3 separate regions of the Homo sapiens genome follow, and all the other regions are linked to region 3. The links are contacts of gene promoters, found by promoter capture Hi-C in human tissues and cell types (Jung and others, 2019). All regions are on one chromosome and are shown on one strand. Each heading gives the region's core, a stretch centred on a gene start or on the middle of the fragment in contact. The rest is flanking DNA. Distances are from core to core; before and after follow the strand shown. Region 1 overlaps CYBRD1 (cytochrome b reductase 1). Region 2 overlaps CYBRD1 (cytochrome b reductase 1). Region 3 holds the start of DLX1 (distal-less homeobox 1).

The links. Contacts are between HindIII fragments. The study calls those that stand out against the background at their distance.
Region 1: a fragment that was not itself captured here is called in contact with the fragment with the promoter of DLX1 in region 3 in 1 of the 25 tissues and cell types used here (lymphoblastoid cells).
Region 2: a fragment that was not itself captured here is called in contact with the fragment with the promoter of DLX1 in region 3 in 1 of the 25 tissues and cell types used here (spleen).

Annotation. Positions count from the first base shown.
Region 1 is chr2:171,558,030-171,561,796 of GRCh38, forward strand. CYBRD1 (cytochrome b reductase 1) reads left to right here. Exons shown (of 4, transcript NM_024843.4): 4 at 1-100. Among named protein-coding and RNA genes, the nearest start is that of CYBRD1, 37 kb to the left of the region's middle. The HindIII fragment of the contact is 4,703 bases long and covers 1-3,767 here.
Region 2 is chr2:171,540,938-171,544,619 of GRCh38, forward strand. CYBRD1 (cytochrome b reductase 1) reads left to right here. Exons shown (of 4, transcript NM_024843.4): 2 at 648-856. Among named protein-coding and RNA genes, the nearest start is that of CYBRD1, 20 kb to the left of the region's middle. The HindIII fragment of the contact is 5,525 bases long and covers 1-3,682 here.
Region 3 is chr2:172,084,091-172,088,015 of GRCh38, forward strand. DLX1 (distal-less homeobox 1) reads left to right here and starts at 1,417. Exons shown (of 3, transcript NM_178120.5): 1 at 1,417-1,900; 2 at 2,564-2,763; 3 at 3,913-3,925. The coding sequence starts at 1,588. RefSeq lists enhancers at 1-450, 451-1,062, 1,063-1,676, 1,526-1,645, 1,677-2,288 and 1 more and a silencer at 1,136-1,245. The HindIII fragment of the contact is 6,806 bases long and covers 1-3,364 here.

The DNA.
Region 1 (3,767 bases), core at 696-3,195, 530 kb before region 3:
AAAAATATTAACTATCCTGAATATTTTATAATTTTGTAGGAAAAATATGCATCTATTTTTTCTTGACTTCTTTTATATAGTAATAAAAGTTATTTTGGAAGCTCTTTGTGTGTTATCAATTTGTCTGGGGTAGCAGGGGTAGGCATTGTTGTGAAAGTTTCTTTGCCATGGTTTTTGGTTTGTTTATTTTTCAGCAGAGATAGTCTTTTTTCAGTTTCTTGATTATGTTAACTGAAAAGCCAGACTCTGTAATGTATAATACATATTTTATAATATTTACTATTAATATTATATATTTATATATAATATTTACTATAAATATCATATATTTATATATAATATTTACTATAAATATCATATATTTATATATAATATTTACTATTAATATCATATATTTATATATAATATTTACTATTAATATTATATATTTATATATAATATTTACTATTATTATATATTTATATATAATATTTAATATTTTATATATATAAAATTTTTCGCAGTAAAGAGTTTAATTAATGCAAAGCAGCCAAGCAGAAGGACTGGAGTTATCACTCAAATCAGTCTTCCTGAGGGCTCAGAGGTTAGGGTTTTTCAATGATAGTTTGGTGGGCAGGGGCAAGGGAATGGATGCTGCTGATTGGTTGGGAATGCAATCATAGGTGTGTAGAAAACAATCCTCATGCACTGAGTCCCCCTCTGGAGGAGGGCCACAGGACCAATTAAGTCATGAGTCACAAGTCCAGATGGGGTCAGCTCTTCACTACCTGACCAATCTTAGGTTCTACAATAGTGATGTTATCTATAGGAGCAACTGGGGAAGTCACAAATTTTGTGACCTCTGGCCACTTGACTCCTGAGCAGTAAGAGATTAGAGAAACTGATGCAGGTCAGGGGAGCCCCAACGTGGAGCTTAGCCCATGTAGGTTTTTGGCTTTGCCCAGGAAAGAATTCAAGAGCAAGCCAGAGGTGGAAGAAAACAGCTTTACTGAAGAGGCAGTGTTACAGCACCATGACTGCTCCTGTAGAGCAGTGCTACCCCCTAGGCAGAGAGTAGCCTGTAAAATATTTTAAAGAGGTTTATTCTGAGCCAATACAAGTGTCAATGACCTGGGGAACACAGTCTCAAGAGGTCCTGAGAAAGTGTGCCCCAGCAGTCGGAATTACAGTTTGCTTTTAGATATTTTAGGGAAGCAGGAGTTATAGGGAAAGGCATAAATCAATGCATGGAAGGTATGCAGTGGTTTGCCCCAAAAAGGTGGGATAACTTGAAACAGAAGCTTAGTTTATAGGTGGATTCAGAGACTCTTTAATATGCAATTGGTTAAAGGAATAGAGCTCTGTCTAAAAATTTGGAGTTGGCCGGGTGCAATGTCTCATGCCTGTAATCCTAGCACTTTGGGAGGCTGAGGTGTGAAGATCACTTAAGCCCAGGAGTTTAAGACCAGCCTGGGCAACAAAGTGAAACCGCATCTCTAAAAAAACAAAATTAAGAAGTTATCTAGGTGTGGTGGCATGTGCCTGTAGTTCCAGCTACTCAGGAGGCTAGGGTGGGAGGATCACTTAAGTCCAGGAAGTCAAGGCTGCAGTGAGCCATGATCATGCTACTGCACTCCAGCCTAAGTGACAGAGCAAGACTCTGTCTCAAAAAATAAAAATAAAAATAAAAAAATAAAAAAAAATTTGGGAGTCAACAGAAAGGAATATTTATGGAATAGCAAATTATTCTACGTAGTGGTTCTCTGCTAGGTTTAAGACAAATTTCTGCCCTGTAATAGCTACAATAAGGTCATGAGGATCTGGTAAAACATACTCAAATATCCTACCCAACTTTCTACACCTTGCTGAATTCAGCATCTCCTCTAAAACTCAGATTTTAGAGCTTTTCAGCTCCTGCTTCATCTCCTTTGCCCCTGCTCCCACCACGCCTCAGTCTGGGTGGAATGTTTCTCCTCACAGCATTCAAAGAACTTGGTTCCTGCCTCTAGCCCATCTTTTTTTTTTTTTCAGTTGCAAGATTTAATAGAGTGAAAACAGAGCTTCCATAAAATGGGAGGGGACCCAAAGGGGGTTGCCGTTGCCGGCTCGAATGCCTGGGTTTATGTCCCAATCATTGTCCCTTCCCCTGTGCTCTCACGTGATAGATGATTGGCTATTTCTTTACCTCCTGTTTTAGCCTAATTAGCATTTTAGTGAGCTCTCTTTACTACCTGACTGGTCTGGTGTGAGCTAAGTTGCAAGCCCCGTGCTTAAAGGTGGATGCAGTCACCTTCCCAGCTAGGCTTAGGGATTCTTAGTCAGCCTAGGAAATCCAGCTAGTCCTATCTCTTAGTACCACCTCTCAACAGGAAAACCCAAGTGCTGTTGGGGAGGTTGGCCAAAGACCGCTCTAACTGCTTCCTGCTGAATTGGGACGTAGTAGGGGTCGTGCAATTGAGATTTCCTCGGGAGGCGTGCCTTCGATGTCATTAACATCAGAGCATGGGCTAGCAGGCCGGTCCAGGGGTCCACGGTAGATCTTAGTCATGGACTGCTTCTGGGGCTCCATTTGAAGAACGATTTGTAGTTTTACAGCTTCGATTCTGGAAGAGACAAACTTAACAAGGAGGTTAAAGATACAGGGATTGAAATGTATGGCCTGCAGTGCAGGAGATTATTTCTTTGGCACACTTCACAGGCCCTGACTATCTGCTTGATAGTTTTGAAAAGGCCTGGTCCCATAAATAATGATTTGGCCATCTGATGGGTGCTATCAATGGCTAAGTGAAAGGTTTGGTGAAGGGTTTTAAGTAATTTCCATTGGTTAGCTGCAGGCAAAAGTATTTTCCCTTCTTTGGTGGCTAGCCATCCTGAGGGGAGGAAACTATGTCCCCGTGAGGTTCCCCATTCTATTTCTCCTGCTGAGTACAGAGGGGATTACCCCACACTAGGGGTCCTTCTACAAGCATTTCTAATGGAGGGTCCCACCTTGTGGCTCTTTTGGCTTCAATATCCACTTGGCAGTTCCCTTCCGATGACCCCGACAGTGTAAGACTGCCACCTCTTTAGGTTTCTGTACAGCTAATAATAATCTCCTAATGGCTTCCTGATGTTTGATAGGTGTTCCCTCGGAAGTTAGGAATTCCCTTTCTCTCCATATTGCTGTGTGGGCATGGAGGACTAGGTAAGCATACTTAGAGTCTGTATATATATTTACCCTTTTTCCTTTTTACCCTTTTTCCTTCTTCTAATTCTGGTGCCCAAGTGAGGGCTATTAGTTCTGCCAGCTGAGCGCTAGTTCCTGGAGTGAGGGGATTACTTTCAAGTATTCCATTATCACTGACCACTGCATACCCCGCTTTTCGAAGTCCTTTTTCTACAAAGGAACTTCCATCAGTATACAAGTTGAGGCCAGGATCAGTCAAGGGAATCTCTAGAAGGTCCCCTCGAGTGGTGAAGGTTTGAGCAATTACTTGTTGACAGTTATGTTCTATTTTTTTCTTCATTGCCTGGAAGAAATGTGGCTGGATTAAGAGTTGCACAAGTGTGCAGTCGCAGCACTGGTCCCTCAAGTAATAGAGCCTGATGTTTAAGCAAATGGTTGTCTGACAGCCACAAGTCTCCACACAGTGAGATCTCTTCCCTGTATCATTTTAACTGCTTCAGATACTAAGACTGCTACTGCTGCCACTACCAGTAAAAAATGAGGCCAACCCGTTGTCACTGCATCAGTTTCCTTACTCAAGTATGCCATGGGTTGCAAGCTGGTCCCTCGGACCTGTGTAAGG
Region 2 (3,682 bases), core at 525-3,024, 540 kb before region 3:
TATTTTTAGTAGAGATGGGGTTTCACCATGTTGGCCAGGCTGGTCTTGAACTGCTGACCTCAAGTGATACCCCGCCTCAGCCTCTCAAAGTGCTGGGATTACAGGCATGAGCCACTGGGCCCGGCCAAACTGAGACATTTTTAAGAAGAAAGGAGACAACAGGCATAAATCAGATTGTTAAGATTAGGAATTTGGTTTTGGATAAGTTTGAGATGTCTGGGAAGCAAACGCCGTACGGAAATACCAAGAAGACATTGGATTATGCAGATCTGAAGCTTAGAAGACAGTTCTGGGCTGGAGATATAAATTTTTTGGAGTCCCTGCCATGGAGACAGCATTTCAGTGAAAGAGTGAATGAGATCACCCACAAGAGGGAGTGCAGAGGGAGAAAAAGCCCTAGGACCGAGCCTGAGAGGCACCAAGGTTCATTCACAAGTTGGGAGTGAAGAAAATGCCAGCAAAGGAACTCCTCCACCGTCCCCTAGAGGGAGCCACTGAGAGGCAGGGGTAACATGGGGAAGAGGGGAGAAGCAAAAGCCAAGGGAAAAAGGTTTCAAAAAGGGAGTGTCCAGTGTGTCAAACTGTTCATTTTGTGTTGTTTAAAAAACAAAACAAAACACATTCTGTGTCCTTTCGTCTTTCCCTAGCCATCATCGTCTACAGACTGCCGTGGACCTGGAAATGCAGCAAGCTCCTGATGAAATCCATCCATGCAGGGTTAAATGCAGTTGCTGCCATTCTTGCAATTATCTCTGTGGTGGCCGTGTTTGAGAACCACAATGTTAACAATATAGCCAATATGTACAGTCTGCACAGCTGGGTTGGACTGATAGCTGTCATATGCTATTTGTTACAGGTCAGTATTTCAGTGTATTTACAAGCAAGTTATAAAAACAATTCAGAGACTGTAAATGTTTTCTTTTCTTTTTTTTTTTTTTTTTTTTTGAGACAGAGTCTCGCTTAGCCACCCAGGCTGGAGTGCAGTGCTGCGATCTTGGCTCACTGCAACCACTGTCTCCAGGGTTCAAGTGATTCTCCTGTTTCAGCCTCCCAAGTAGCTGGGATTACAGGTACCCACCATCGTGCCAGGCTAATTTTTGTATTTTAGTAGAGATGGGGTTTCACCATGTTGGCCAGGCTAGTCTTGAACTCCTGACCTCAGGTGATCCGCCTGCCTCAGCCTCCCAAAGTGCTAGGATTACAGGTGTGAGCCACCGCGCCCAGTGACTGTAAATGTTTTCTAAACATTCTTTACATTTGTTTCTATTATAACTATTTTCCCCTCAGAGAGCACCAGAATTGCAGAATTCACAGAACAAAATAATAAGAAATAAAGATTTCTTATACTGGATATGACTTTTAATCTGGATTCTCTAAAAACCAACTTATACTCTGCTCTATATCTTAATATGTAAAATTAAGAAATATCAGGCTGGGCATGCTGGCTCATGCCTATAATTCCAGCATTTTCGAAGGCCGAGGTGGGAGGATCATTTGAGCTCCGAAGTTCAAGACCAGACTGGGCAACATAGGGAGACTGTCTCTACAAATAAAGGAAAGACAGAGAGAGAGATCGAGAGAGAGAGAAATCAAGAGAGAGACTGATCTAACAATTAGCAATAAAGAGAATACCTATTTAAAAATCTGTGGGTCCTGGCTGGGCATAGTGCACTGCTCACTCCTGTGATCCCAGCACTTTGAAAAGCTGAGACCAGTGGATCGCTTAAGCCCAGACGTTTGAGATCAGCTTGGGCAACATGGCGGAACCTCATCTCTAAAACAAAAACACAAAAATTAGCTGGGCAGGGTGGTGCACACCTGTTGTCCTGGCTACTTGGGATGATGAGGTGCACAGCTCCCTTGAGACCAGGAGGCAGAGGTTACAGTAAGCTGAGATTATACCATTGCACTCCAGCCTGGGCAACAGAGCCAGACCCTGATCTCAAAAAAATAAATAAATAAAAATCTTTGGGGTTTAATTAAAATGGTTCCCAGAGGAATATAGGCTTAAATGCTTTTATTATATTTTTTGGAAAGAAAACTTAAAATACATAAGCTATTTACTTAGGTAACTATAAGGGAACAGCAAAATATACCAGGAAAAGTAAATCAATAAAGGTAAAAAAAAATCCATAAATAATTCATTTTCTATTGTGGTAACCAATTACCACAGACTTAATGGCCTGAAACAACATAAATTTATGACCTCACAGTACCTGTACATCAGAAGTCCAGATTGGCTTGTCTGGTTTCTCTGCTCTGGGTCTAACAAGGCCAGTATCAAGGTGTCAGCCTTCCAGGGCTCTGATTGGGAGACTAGGGTAGAATCAGCTTAAAGCAAATTCAGCTTGATGGCAGAGTCCAGGTCCTTGTATGTGCAGGACTGAGGTCCCTGTTCCCTTGCTGGCCATCAGCTGGGGCTGCCCTGAACCTTGGAGTCCTCTCTTCCTTGTACCCGGCTCCCTTCATCTCCCTACCAGCAATGGACATCCAGTCCATCTCGCTGGCTTGGAAACTCTCTGACTTCTCCTTCTCCTTCCTCCTCATCTCTTCTCCTCAACCAGATAAAGTTCTTACCTACCCCAACCCCTAGAGGTTACCATTCTCCCGGTGTTTATTCTCATTCTCTGCTTTTTAAAATACTTTAATCACATACTGTGAATCAATATATTGATTAAACAAGATGTTTAATTAAATAATATTGATTAATTAAACAAGATGTTTAAATATTGATTAATTAAATCATATATTGTTTAATTTTGCTTTTTAAATGAAACTTTTTTTAAAAAATGGTCTCATATATATTCTATTGCAACTTTTTTTTAACTCTACTGATTAAACTGTATTGATTCCTCTGGCTATAGTTCATTCATTTTTACTTTTGTATTCCACTGTATAAATATGCCACAAATTTACTTACCTGTTCTCTTGCTATTTTCAGTTAGAAACTATGCTGCATTGAATATTCATATATACATCTCCTGGTCCTCACATCTAAAGGTTTCTCTGGGCATATACATAGTAGTGAAATTACAAGCTCAACCTAAAAAGATAATGCTAAATTGTTTTCCCAAGTGATTGACCCAGATTATATTCCTGCCAGAAGTTTATGAGTTCCCATATCCTTACCAGCTTGCACCCTCTTTAAACTTTAAATCCTTGCTAAACTAGTTGGTACTTAATGATGTATTCTTGTAGTTTTAATGTTCATTTCACTTGTGTTTTATCTTCTAAGACACACCTGTTTGTGTCTTTTGTCTATTTAAAAAATGTTTCTCTTTTTCTTAAAGATTTATAGGAATTCTATATCGAATTCTTTTTCATTTATATATATTGCTATATCTTCTCCTAGTTTGAAGCTTGCATTTTCTCTGTTGTTAACATCTTTTGATAAACAGAAATTGTCAATTTTAATGTAACCAAATTAATCATCTTTTCCTCTGAGACTATCATTCTTTGTTTTGTTTTCTTTTGGTGACTTGTTTATGAAATTCTTCTCTACCCTGAGGTCAAAATATCATCTTATGCTTTCTACTAAGAGCATTAAAATTTTGTCTTTTACTTTTCTACTCTAGTACACAGAAAAAACAAACCAAAAAAACCCCAACAATATGAAAAATAGTTTTGTCTTTGATATTTAAGTACTTACTTCATCTGGAATTAATTTTAATGTGTGAGGTGA
Region 3 (3,925 bases), core at 167-2,666:
TTTCCCCGTTCCCGTCACACCGCTAAATTATGAAAGAAATAATTATCAACACTTTCTAATTACCTAACAAAGTAATTTGGGATTCACCGTGGGGCTGGCGGGATGGGGAACCAACATCCACTTACAGCCAGGGTGGTGTACGCCACACCGCGAGGGACTGGCTGTATTGGTAGTAGTGGCGATGGGGTGGGGGCTCTTGTGCACTTTTTTGTACCTAGCACCCCAGAAGACAGAAGGAGCAGCGGCAGATCTTGCCTCCACTAGCCCTGCCCCCTAGGCCTGGTGGCGCGCGCTTTGGCCACTGGAGGTGAGGAAGATCCTGGGTGGCAACGAGAGACGTCTACACATAGATAAGGGAGCCTACCACAGGCCTGGGTTTGCTGCGGGTTTCGGTGTCCCCCAGGGACTCCTAAACTCTGGAAGTCGCGCTAGACCTCAGGAGGCCGGAAAATGACCACCTGGCGTCGGTGGCTCCAGCAGATCTGAGCCCCTAGGCCCCCTGGGCTCCACGCTGAGCCGCGCTCTCGGGGCGAGTGAGCCCGGGGCTCTCCGCGCATGGGGAGTGGAGAAGGGAGGGGGAGGAGGAGGAAGGCTGGGAGGGAAAGAGGATGTGTGTGTTGGGGGAGGGGGCGGTGCAGCCGCCTTTCCTGGGAGGAGAAGCGCGGGTTCCTGGCTCTCCACGCGCACTGCTTTAATCAGACCCGTGCAGCCTCGAGCTGGAGTGGCCAGCTGGGCCTGGAGCAATGCGAGCGGGCCCCAGGGAGCGACAGCGGCGTTGGCGCAGCGGCCGAGTGAGTGAGTTCGCAGGGAGGGCCCCTAAGCCCCGACTCCAGGGATGCGGCAGAGCGTACCGGGGAGGCGCGGCCGGATAGGCGCTGCGCTAGGCACAAGGCTCTTAGGAGAACCTCTGTCTGTTGGCCGCCTCGGGCGCCCCCAGTGCGCGACTCCGCGCTCCAGAGGCAGAGGTCAGTCTCCTCCTGAGCCGCCCTAGCTCTGCGCCGAACTGAGTGGCAGCGACGAGAAGCGGTCCCGGGTGTCCGGTGTTAGGGACCGCTGAAGGGTGGGGACAGTGGTAGGGGGGCGGCGGCGCGGAGCCGCTGGTTGGTTCCTGGGGAGGAAAGCGCGCGAGGGAGGCGGGAGGCCGATGAGCCGCGGGCCGCAGGGGCCCCGGCGCAGACGCCGCAGCCCATTGTGCTTCCTGCCCGGCGCGCTCTGTTGCAGAGGAGCCCCGGCCGGGAAGTGTGGATGCGTCTTACCCGAGGCCGGGCCGCCTCGCCCGCTCTAGTCCAGCGGAGCCCGAGCGCCTCGGACCAATCCCCAGTGATTATGCAAGACAGCGGACCAATCAGCTCCGCCAGCTCATGAATATTTATGACCTTCGCTGAGTCAAAGCTTTGAACCGAGTTTGGGGAGCTCAGCAGCATCATGCTTAGACTTTTCAAAGAGACAAACTCCATTTTCTTATGAATGGAAAGTGAAAACCCCTGTTCCGCTTAAATTGGGTTCCTTCCTGTCCTGAGAAACATAGAGACCCCCAAAAGGGAAGCAGAGGAGAGAAAGTCCCACACCCAGACCCCGCGAGAAGAGATGACCATGACCACCATGCCAGAAAGTCTCAACAGCCCCGTGTCGGGCAAGGCGGTGTTTATGGAGTTTGGGCCGCCCAACCAGCAAATGTCTCCTTCTCCCATGTCCCACGGGCACTACTCCATGCACTGTTTACACTCGGCGGGCCATTCGCAGCCCGACGGCGCCTACAGCTCAGCCTCGTCCTTCTCCCGACCGCTGGGCTACCCCTACGTCAACTCGGTCAGCAGCCACGCATCCAGCCCCTACATCAGTTCGGTGCAGTCCTACCCGGGCAGCGCCAGCCTCGCCCAGAGCCGCCTGGAGGACCCAGGTACGTGCGCTTGCCAGGGAGAGGGAGAGGAGGAGGTACAAGGGAGAGAGGGAAAGAAGGAGCGGGGGAGAAGAGGAGAGGGAGAGAGAGAGAAAGAGAAGAGAGGAGAGCGAGGTGGGGTGGGGGTGGGGAGGGCGCGGGAGCAGTGGAGGTTTCGAATATCAATCTATAGATCCTTGTCACAGCAAATAAATTTTTTTAAAAATTCCCTCAATTTGCAACTATCCAGCCAAGGATAAATCCCAGAGCGTCTCCTGGCACTGGCTGGGCCTCTGGGCGGCTCGGTGTGCAGAGCACACAATGCCCCGCTGGAAAACAGAAACCCACATGTGCACGTATTAGTCTCGGTAATTATTTATTGCGTAGCGCTATAAACAATGTATGCAATTAAGGGTAATTAAACCTCAACTACCGCCTGCAAAAATAGCAAACTTTCCCTGCAAAGGCAGGAGCTGAGCTCCTGGGAACGGCTCTATCCCTCCTGCAGCGTCCCGGGACAGGCCCTCGGATTTTGGGGGACCCTTCCCTGGCTTTCAGAGTTTCTTGAACGTTCTCTCCCTGGTGCTGCCTCCGCCACCCTTCGGTAGCCACTCGCTCTCGGCTGTTCGCACTAAAGGCGGCCCCTCGTATTAACAACGGGCCCTACTTCTGCTGTCCCTCCAGGGGCGGACTCGGAGAAGAGCACGGTGGTGGAAGGCGGTGAAGTGCGCTTCAATGGCAAGGGAAAAAAGATCCGTAAACCCAGGACGATTTATTCCAGTTTGCAGTTGCAGGCTTTGAACCGGAGGTTCCAGCAAACTCAGTACCTAGCTCTGCCGGAGAGGGCGGAGCTCGCGGCCTCTTTGGGACTCACACAGACTCAGGTACCTCGCCGCTGCCGCTCCGTTCTGCCACGCAGGCTTTCCGCGGCCGGCCTGCGCCCGGGTCTTCATTTGTTGCTCGCTGGGACTCAGGGTCGGGGTGTCACTGTGTGTATGTGTTTGTGTCCACCCCTGGCTCTCAGCGTGTCTCCTTCCTCCCTCATTCCCTCTGCCCTAGCTCTGTCACTGCTCTCGGTATCCCGAGCTGCCTGCCGTCCGGCCCTCTGTCCCTGGACAATCTGATTAGGGCGCAGGAAGGATTTCCCCAGACGATTTGTTTGGGAACTCAGAGGTCACACGTGCCTAAACAACTGGAACAATAGACTCCGGGCTTAATCCCTCCTTTGCCTTTAAATTGTGTGACTAATCACTCGGGGCCTGGGTCCGCGCCTCAGCCTCCCTCCTCCTCCTCCTTCTTACCGGTTGGGGGTGGGGGGAGATCCTTTCCTCCGCCCTCTCACCTCTCAAGTCCCAGACCTTAGAGAAGAAACGGGACCTTCCTTCCCGGCTTTCTGTAAGACTCCGGGGAGCCCGTGAGCGTTCCTGACGGCGGCGGGCGCGGGTTTCCGACGTCCGGTCCGGGATTTGGAGCAGAGCTGGAGAAAGCAAACAGACACTAGTGCAAGAATGGTTTTGAATCCAAAGAGAAGTTCAGCAAAACCTTGAGGCCTCCTTAGTCCGTCCCAACTCAAGGGCAGAAAAGATGGCGCATAGAAAAGTTGGGTCGCGTTGCAAATAAATTTCCTCCACTCCTTCCTAGGTTTTCGATTCTTTTTATTGATGTTGATATTGGAATTGCTGGCTCGGTGTTATGCAGGCGCTGTATCTTCCGCAGGCGGTAGCCACGGTCGGACTGAGCCCCTGGCAGGCTAAGGCCTGGATCCCGGTTCTCCCCTCATCACAACTCCTCCCTGGCTCTCTGAGAGCTGCCCCCGTGGGCTGACGGCGGCGGGAGGTTCGGCCTTCGAGCCTTTGGCTCTTATGGGGGAAGGGAGGAAGGAGGGATGTCTCTGCTTCTCTGGCAGGGAGCTGCCAGCTGGCGCAGGGTTGGGAGGTCCTATCTCTGCTGTTCTGCGGTCCCTTTTTTCCTCCCTGTGACCTAGGTAGGCTCAGTGGTCCCAGCCTGAGTCACGTTGTTGTCCGCTCTTGCAGGTCAAGATCTGGT